Linked DNA regions of Homo sapiens: region 1 is linked to region 2. The links are contacts of gene promoters, found by promoter capture Hi-C in blood cells and fetal thymus (Javierre and others, 2016). All regions are on one chromosome and are shown on one strand. The core of a region is centred on a gene start or on the middle of the fragment in contact, and the rest is flanking DNA. Distances in the headings are between cores, read along the strand shown. Region 1 holds the start of ZNF138 (zinc finger protein 138). Region 2 holds the start of SEC61G (SEC61 translocon subunit gamma).

What was found. The method cuts DNA at HindIII sites, captures the fragments that hold promoters and counts their contacts. A CHiCAGO score of 5 or more calls a contact.
Region 1: the fragment with the promoter of ZNF138 here is called in contact with the fragment with the promoter of SEC61G in region 2 in 4 of 17 cell types (total CD4 T cells, naive CD8 T cells, naive CD4 T cells and 1 more); the score reaches 20.4 in total CD4 T cells.

Annotation. Positions count from the first base shown.
Region 1 is chr7:64,792,487-64,796,866 of GRCh38, reverse strand. ZNF138 (zinc finger protein 138) reads right to left here and starts at 2,439. Exons shown (of 4, transcript NM_001271639.2): 1 at 2,296-2,439. The coding sequence starts at 2,298. RefSeq lists enhancers at 1,839-2,399, 2,184-2,423, 2,664-2,713. The HindIII fragment of the contact is 8,026 bases long and covers 1-4,380 here.
Region 2 is chr7:54,757,849-54,762,619 of GRCh38, reverse strand. It overlaps SEC61G (SEC61 translocon subunit gamma), which reads left to right and starts at 3,409. Exons shown (of 4, transcript NM_014302.4): 1 at 3,409-3,462. SEC61G-DT (SEC61G divergent transcript) reads right to left here and starts at 3,307. Exons shown (of 3, transcript NR_110040.1): 1 at 3,096-3,307. RefSeq lists an enhancer at 2,271-3,206 and a silencer at 3,440-3,759. The HindIII fragment of the contact is 2,422 bases long and covers 2,999-4,771 here.

The DNA.
Region 1 (4,380 bases), core at 1,190-3,689, about 10 Mb before region 2:
TTCACCATGTTGGCCAGGCTGGTCTAGAACTCCTGACCTCAGGTGATCTCCCTGCCTTGGCCTCCCACAGTGCTGGGATTTCAGGCATGAGCCACCGCACCCCGCCGGAAATGTATTCGTTTTCCACAGCCAAAATGGAAGAAGTATTTTCCCTATTCTTTTCCTTGGTAGCATTCTAAAAGCTAAGCCTTGGAATACTCTTGGACATCACCCAGCCATAAAAAAACAGACCTGAGAAAATTCCTAAACTCAGTCTGGGAAAGAAAAAGGTAAATGAGAATACTTAACAAATAGAATATATGATTAGATATTTTTTTCCAAAACCCATCTCTTTCATGCCCATTCTAATTATCCTCTTACCTTTTAGTCCTACTAATAAACTGCAAGTTACAATTAAAACACTGAAGTAAGTGAACAAATCTTTTCAGGGTGACAATCCCAGGGAGTGGCAGTGCTGATTAAAAAACAGATGTATCTCACTCACATGTCAAGTCAAGCCACCCAATCACTTGAGAGATTCTCCCACCCCATCCTGCTCACTTAAGTGCTAAACGACCACCCTCTCTGAAGACCACCCTCTCTGAAGACGCTGCACTATGCCTCAGTGACTGCCCCAAGTACATTTCACTTTGCAAGTTCTTGAACCATCTCACTGGGGTAAGGTTTGATTTGTCTTTTTGGATACTATCATTTCTTTCACAAATCTTAGAGAATCCAGTGGGCCGAAATTATTTCTGTGTTCTCCCCTCAATACCAGCATATGATTGATTGACCAGCAATATGTCTCCGGAAATGGACACTGGGTTGGTTTGAAGACAATCTTAACTTCTCAAAGGGTTTGCTTTTCAAAGGAAGAGTACACCAGGAGATTCCTCTCAGCCCCAGGGCATTCACCTGCTCCCTTGAGAGGCTACACTCCAACCTCAGGTTGTCCTCTGTCTCCCATTCCCAGATAACCAGAGTTCATTCCAGGCCAGGAGCTGAAATTTACCAGAGATTCTAGCATACACAGCCACAGTGGATATTTTGATTTATCCTCAGAAAGTACTGAAACCCAGGACCAAGGAAAAAACTGAAGAGTGACTAAGGACACATTACCTTATAAAGTTTCCAAAGGGAAACCTTGACCCAAAAATATTCTGATAAGATCTCTGTACCTAGGGAAGATTTAAAAAAAAAAAAAAAGGCACAGAGATTTTTTACAATACAGCATCAGGGGATGAGTCTTTGGTTTCTTCTCATGGGAAATATTTACAAACAGATAACAAATCTTTTTTAAAATGCCATCCATGCTTTGTCAAAAAATGATTAATTAAAATACAGTATTTCAAATGTACACTAAAGGACAAATAGTTGATAATGTGAATTAGGAAGGGGAAGTTGGCATTTGGGAATGTCAGAAGGAACTGGAAATTTAGTATTTTACTGCAAGCCAGAGTTAGGCTGAAGGAATGGGAAATGGGGAGGGGGAGGAGTCTTGAGACCCTGCTTGGGACACATGTGAAAAATGAAGGGGAAGATCTGTCCCCTGTGGAGTGTGAAAATAATTAAGTGGCAGGCAATTAGACTGAGGTCGCTCCAGTCCCAGGGTTTCTGGTTTTAAAAAAATCTAACTCAAATGCATTTTTTTGTAAATTACTACCTTGTGAAAAATAAAATTCATGTTTAACCAACTGTAAACTGCCAATTAACCTCTGATTACATGACCAGGAAATTTCCTCCTTCATTGTACAAATTAAGAAACTACATAACTCTACTAACCAATTACTGAATTTGGTTTTATCATACACCTTATACAAGTGTTTCCTTCAAACCCCTCCCACGGACCACTACTGCAAACCACAGCTGGGTGCTCCACAATTCTTGAATCACTGTTTGATTAAATTAATTTTTTTGCGGTGACTTTCATAAATTTTAATAGGGGAAAAGAGGGACAGGGAAGCCCGCGGAGGAAACCTCTTCCCATTCATGAACCCAGCACCCCGAGTCAGGATTCTCCCCTGACGACCCTCCCGTCGTCTCTGCACAATCGCTGCGGGTGCAGAGCTGCTCAGAGAGGGCTCCAGGCCAGGGCACAGTCACTGCGCAGGGAGGAGACAGGACGCCTGGTTCCGGCTGTCAGCCCAGCTGCCATGCTATGGCTTAAGGGGACTGAGGGCCGAGCTGTGCCAAGAACTCGGGGCCGCGGATTTTGCAGCCGACTGCGGGAAGACCCGAGTACTGCCACAGCCACTTCCGACCGGTTCCAACCAGCTCCCTCCCCCTCTCTCGGGATGTCGGACCCAGCACTCTCACCATTTCTAGGCTTCCGGGGGATCCTGGCGTCTTAGCTGTGAATCTCCCAATAACCAGATCACAGCGCCACAGAGGCTGGGCCTCTAGGAGTAAGAGGACGCAGAAAAGTGAAGGCCAGACCTGCAGCACCCGCTGCAGCGAGACAAAGACCCCGCCGCCTCCCGGAAGACGTCATGTCCGCTCCAGCTGGGTGCCTGATTGGACCGTTCCCAGCCCGGCGTCCCTGATTGGATAACGTTTAACAACCCGCCCCCTCAGGCCCTGAGTGACAGATGTGCTCAGGTGCTGGGCTGAAGGAAGACAGAGTTAAACCTAAGCAGCAGCCTTTTCCAGAAGGGCTTCCTCCCTGAGCTGAGTCAGGCCCACCCCAGAGGGCATTTGCATTTAACCTTGTGTATAAGGTCGTATGCATTTATAAATAACATATAGCTATTCACATCTGAATATAACAATTATTTTTAAATTCCAGATTTTATAACCGTACTGGCTTCTGGTCCTTTGAGCAGGCAGCCTGAGATTTTTTTCTTTTTTTTTTTTGAGACAGAGTCTCACTCTCACCCAGGCTCAAGCACAGTGGCACGATTTCGGCTCACCCCAAACTCCGCATCTCGGGCTCAAGTGATTCTCCTGCCTTAGCCTCCTGAGTAATTGGGATTACAGGCACCCGCCTCCACGCCCGGCTACTTTTTGTATATTTAATAGAGACAGAATTTTGCCATGTTGGTCAGGCTGATCTCGAACTCCTGACCTCAGGTGATCCACCTGCCTCGGCCTCCCAAAGTGCTGGGATTACAGAGCACATGTGAATTCCAAATTTTCTAGTAGTCAAACTTTAAGAATAAACAGGTGGAATTCACTCTAATTGAGATGGTTAGTCATTTAGGCTGGGCTCAGTGAGACCATTCTTGTGACCTCAGCTGAGTTCCTTCAGACATGTATCATCAGCTGCTTGTTGACTAGGCAGCTGTGCTTCTGGGGGTGAGCTTCTGCTTCTGAGGCTGTCAACAGAGGCAACTTGCTTCTCCTCCCCATACTATTTTATCTTCCATCTGGCTAACATGGGCTTTTTTCGCGGAGATAGTAGCCTTCTGAAAGAAAAACAGAAGCATGCAAAACCATTTGAGCCTACGCCTCAAACTAGCACACTGCACTGTTCACAGGTTTTTACTGCCCTGAGCAAATAAGGCCAGCCAGATCTAGGGTTTGGAAAACAGAACTGGATCTCAATGGAAACAGCTGTAAATGCACCTGGCAATGGGCATGGATAGCGGAGGGATGAAAAATTGCTAACATTTTTGCAATCAGTATCATTCTGCCTTTTTTTGCATATGTGGTTTATATAACTCTTCCACATCAAAAAAAAAAAAATTTGTGCAAAGACCCACAGCTATTAAGTGGCTGGGCTGGGACTCAGAATTAACTCCATTTGACCCTTGAAATCCTGGAGAGTGACACTTCTAAAATAGAAGCCAGATTTCTTTTAGATTTGTGCCCATATAGCACTGTTTATTATTATTGCTAGAAATAATCTTAAGAAATTGAAGAAGCACACGGTAGCTCACATCTATAATCCTAGCACTTTGGCAAGCTGAGATGGGAGAATCACTTGCGCTCAGGAGTTCAAGTGCAGCCTGAATAACATAGTTAAGATCCTATGTGCATGAAAATTTTTTTTTTTTTAATTAGCCAGTCATGGCCGGGCGCGGTGGCTCATGCCTGTAATCCCAGCACTTTGGGAGGCCGAGGAGGGCAGATCACGAGGTCAGGAGATCGAGACCATCCTGGCTAACACGGTGAAACCCCGTCTCTACTAAAAATACAGTCCCAGCTGCTCGGGAGGCTGAGGCAGGAGAATGGCATGAACCCACGAGATGGGGCTTGCAGTGAGCCAAGATCCCACCACTGCACTCCAGCCTGGGTGACAGAGCGAGACTCCGTCTCAAAAAAAATAAAAAATAAAAATAAATAAAAATAAAAATTAGCCAGCATGAGGCAATCCTGTAGTCCCAGCTACTCAGGTGGCAGAGGCAAGAGGATTACTTGAGCCTGGAAGGTCGAGGCTGCAGTGAGCCATGATTGGTTACG
Region 2 (4,771 bases), core at 2,160-4,659:
TTTGAATCTAGGTCCAGTCTTTGATTTTTCCTGGGGAACTGTTGACACTTTCATAATTTCAACCACTGTGTCAGCTTCATTTTTAAAAAGATACAGCTCTTTCCACTTTGTCATCATACCTAAATGAAGTAATACAAAACAAAAAGCTGCTATGGAGTCCTTGGTTCTCCATAGATCTTCTTAAACTTTTTCTTGCTTCAGGCAGAGATTCAAGAATATAAATGGAATATTAATTCAGCTTATCTCAAACGATATTATTAATATTTCATGTATTTTTAAATTGAGGGGCAATTTAAAATTTCTGCTATATATACATTCAATTTACACTCAGTACAATTTATGTCAAAATTTTTAAAACTTGATTTGGTGATCTATATATTGACTTTTTTCCATCTTATAAACATTTTTAAACATACAGAAAAATTGAAAGAATTATTCAATGAACATCTTACACCACAACTAAGTCTACATTTAACATTTTGTTGTATTTGCATTATCACCAGTTTATTCCTCTAACCATGAACCTGCCCTTTTTAAAATCAAAATAAGTTGTAGATACCTGTACATTTCCCTCCTAAATGCATCGACAATTGTATAATTAACTAGAGCTCAATACTTGTTGAGGTTTTTTTTTTTTTTTTTTTTTTTTGAGGAAAAAGGCACAGACCTGCTGCTATGGATGGAATGTTTGTGCGCCTCCAAATTCATATGTGGAAGCCCAAATGTGATGGCATTTGGATGAGGGGCTTCTGGGAGGTAATTAGGTCAGGAGGCTGAAGCCCCATGTTGGGATTAGTGTTCTTACGACCAGGAGGAGAGCTGGTCCTTTCTTTCTCTCTTCCTCCATCTCCCGCAATGTGAGAATGCAATGAGAAAGTAGCTATCTATAAACCAGTAAAAGCCTTCACAAGAACCTGACCATTATCTCTGACTTCCAGTCTCCAGAACTGTGAGAAATAAATGTTTGTTGTGTAAGCCACCACTCTATGATACTCTGTTATAGCTGCCCACGTTGACTAAGACCCCTGTGAAACCCTAAGACCTGTTAAATTACAGAGCATTACATTCACTCCCCAGTTCCCTCACCCGCCTTCTCAATATGTAGCCCCGGGCAAACACTGTTCTGATTTTTTCCACCATTCATTATTTTTGCTTTGTCTAAAATTTCTTGCAAATGGAACTGCACACTGTGCCTTCTTTAGCGTAGGCTTGTTTCACTCACCATGTTTGTCATTCATCAATGTTGTGGCAGAGAGTTTTCTTTCCTTAGCTATGGAGTACTATTCTGTTGTGGGACTATACCTGTATGTTTATTCATTCTATTGATGGTACCCTGTTGCTTTTAGTTCTGTTATCAATAAAGTTACTACGAACATTCCTGTACAAGTCTTTCTGTGAATTTAGTTTCATATATCTTCAATAAGTACCTGGAATTGGAATTGTGGAGCCATAGGTGGTGTATATATGCTTCATATTATGATAAACTACTAAACTTTTCCCAAAAGGGTTATGCCATTTTACACTCCTAGTAACCAGGAATTAGAGTTCTAGAGTTCTGATTGTTACGTATTTTTGCACAGATTTGCTGTTATCAGCCTGTTTTTTTTTTTTTTTTTTTTTACAGACGGAGTCTTGCTCTGTTGCCCAGGCTGGAGTGCAGTCGTGTGACCTCAGCTCACTGCAACCTCCACCTCCCGGGTTCAAGGGATTCTCTTGCCTCAGCCTCCTGAGTAGCTAGGGTTACAGGCATGCGACACCATTCCAGACTAATTTTTGTATTTTTAGTGGAGACGGGGTTTCTCCACGTTGGTCTGGCTGGTCTCAAACTCCCGAAATCAGGTGAGTAGACAATTATAACAATACACTGTAATGAAAGTTATTTGAATGTGGCCTCTCCCAGATTACCTTCTGGTACACATCTCTTTTTGAACCAGATTTTCTTGGATAAGGGGAACCACTGTATGTGTTACTTGATTTTCTGTGTTTTGCTGAAAATACTGTCAACTCAGACATTTGGTGGTTGGGGTGAACTTGCCAACATGTGATTTTATGTTTTTTTGGAATGAATTATTTTTTTGAAAATTATTTATTGAGCATTTACTGTGTTTAGCACTTTACTAGATGCTATATTATACCCACTTGGAGCTTATGGTCTAGTAAGGGGATTTACAGTGTAGGGAGACAGACCGAGGAATAAATAAATAAATGTTAATACAAATGCTATGCAGCAAATGAAGAAGGTATTGTGAAAAAGGAAAAAAGAGCATGAGATAGACAGGATTGCCTTAGATGGTCACTATAGGCCTCTAAGGAGATGACACATGGGCTGAAGTCCCAGGGATGAAGAACTAGTCAAACGCATCTCAGTCTGTTCAGAATTTAAAAGTGACTCTTAAAGCTAAGGCAAGGTATGTGTAGTGTGTATGGACCACCTACAGTCAGATATACGGAGGTGTGTGACCTCTAACCCTGACCCACTGAATCAATATCTGGAGGTTCTGGGGTTACAAATTTCATTTACTAAAAAACTTAACAGGAGATTTCAGTTACTGAAGAAGTTTAAGAAGCACTGAGAGTTGTAACACGTCTTAATGTTCCATCAGCTCTTCCTGAGTTATATTGTTCCTCAGATCCCGTTATGCTCCATTGCTAAAAGGAAACATGGCCGGGCGCGGTGGCTCACGTCTGTAATCCCAGCACTTTGGGAGGCCGAGGCGGGTGGATCGCGAGGTCAGGAGTTCAAGACCAGCCTGGCCAATATGGTGAAACCCCGTCTCTACTGACGGTTTCAGCCATCCGGCGGGGGGTTCCTGGAATGCATCCTTGTGGGTAAGTGGGGAGCTGTGTGTACATTATGACCACTCCCGTAACCAAACCTAGCGTTTGACAAAGGCCTCAATTACAGCGGCATTCATTACCGTGAATGACAGCCAAAGTCAAAGTTTGGGGTGGGGATACTATTTTGAATTAGGCCATAACATTATATTGCTCATAAGCTTCATTTCGACCAACATTATATACATACAAAAAGTATGTACCGTAAGGACACACATCAAGCTGGACCGCAGGAAAAAAAACCACAACTTAGGATTTACCTAGTCAGCCGCTACTAGAGAGCAAGCACCGCGCAAGGCCGCTGGGGCTCGTGCTGTGGACGTGAGTGGGTTGAGGTCGGGCTGGTGGGGTAACCCGGGATCCAGCCGGAAAAAAGGGATAACGCTAGACTCACACTCCTAAGGAAGGCCAACGCCCCAACTAGCGAGCTCCGCAATGCATCTCTTCCAGGAAGCGTGGCCGGGCGCACGTCGCGCTGCGCTTGCGCACTGAGGTTTCGCGTAAGGAACCAATAGGACGGAGGAGTGGGCGGGCTGTTGGCAGAAACCCGGATTCCGGTTCCGGTGGGCCTCCATCAGCAAGCTCCAGTGCTACGTGTCCCTGGCATTTTAGGTGTCGGTTGGGTAGGTGAGTTTCTTCCCACCGGTCGGTACGGGCGAACGGGGCGGCCACACCTTTGCGACTCTTGGGGGCAGCGGGCGTGGGCGAGCCGGCGTGTCTCCCCGGGCGGCCGTCGCGGGGCGGGCGGTAAGTGGTCCCCTGGCTCAGGGCCGGGGTCTGGCCGCCGACATCCCACCAACTCGGCCTCTGGCGGAAGGCAGACCCAGGGCCGCGGACTCCCGGCGAGCTGGGTGGCCGGCCCGCGGGGCTCCAGGGCTTAGCGTCCTGCCCCGGCGTCTTCTGTGCTGCAGCCAAAGATGATGTCCTGCTGCCCGATCCCTTCGGGGTTGGCTCTGTGTGCTGTTGTGGAGTCCTGTCTGGGAAGAGCTGTACTCAGCTCTGGTCCTGCCGCCGCTTCCGTGGTTTAAAGTGAGAGCATTGGTCTAGAGTCTAGTTCGAGAGATCATAGTTGGTTTTTGGATCTCTACCCCTGACATTGAGTGCGGTATTGTGTGTAGCGTGCGTTTTTCTGGATAAAGAATTCTTAGCTTCCTTCGTGACAACTATGATTACAAAAAGTTTAAGCCCTTTGGATTTCAAGAGCAAAGTTGAGTGAAATACTGAGAAAACAGACATTACTGTGTTTTTGCCCCCAGAACGTTGCAGAATTCCTGGTGTTTCATTGACATTATTTCATTTCGTTGTCCACACCCTACACTAAGGAAGGCAACTGGGGCTTACAGAGGTTTACATTCCATAGCCAGTGATTTGAACTACCACCTGGCCACTGTTCTGAGTACTGGAAATGGAGGAAAATACAAATAACACCCTGGCTGCTTTACTTACTATAGCAGTGGCTCTCAAAGCTAAGATCGGATAACATTTCTATTGGGTAATAGATTCCTCAAAAGAACCTGTATGGTAAAATATATAGCCCTGTTTCCTTAAAAGATGTGTTCAAATCGAAAAGTTTGAAATTTAGCTAGTAGCTTCTCAGAATTTGCGTCTTCCTTTAGCCATTCTTTATACTTTAGAAAAGTATGTTGTATTGGCACGTTTTAGAAAAATCAAGGTTGAAATTCACGTTTGCCTCTATTCTAGGCTCTTGCAGCACCGTAGTTGGCATTCACTGTACAAGACACTGGCTTCTGCGTAGTTTAAAATAAAATATGGAAAGTAATTGTTGGATCTCAACACTGATGGTTCCTTAGGAGCGGTGAGGGGACTGTAGAATGAGAAATGGATGGGACTGCAGAGTGAGAAAAGGAATGGATGTGTTACCAATTGCGTAACCTTTTTTAACCTTTTAATAGAGATAGGCTTTTTATATTGCGTG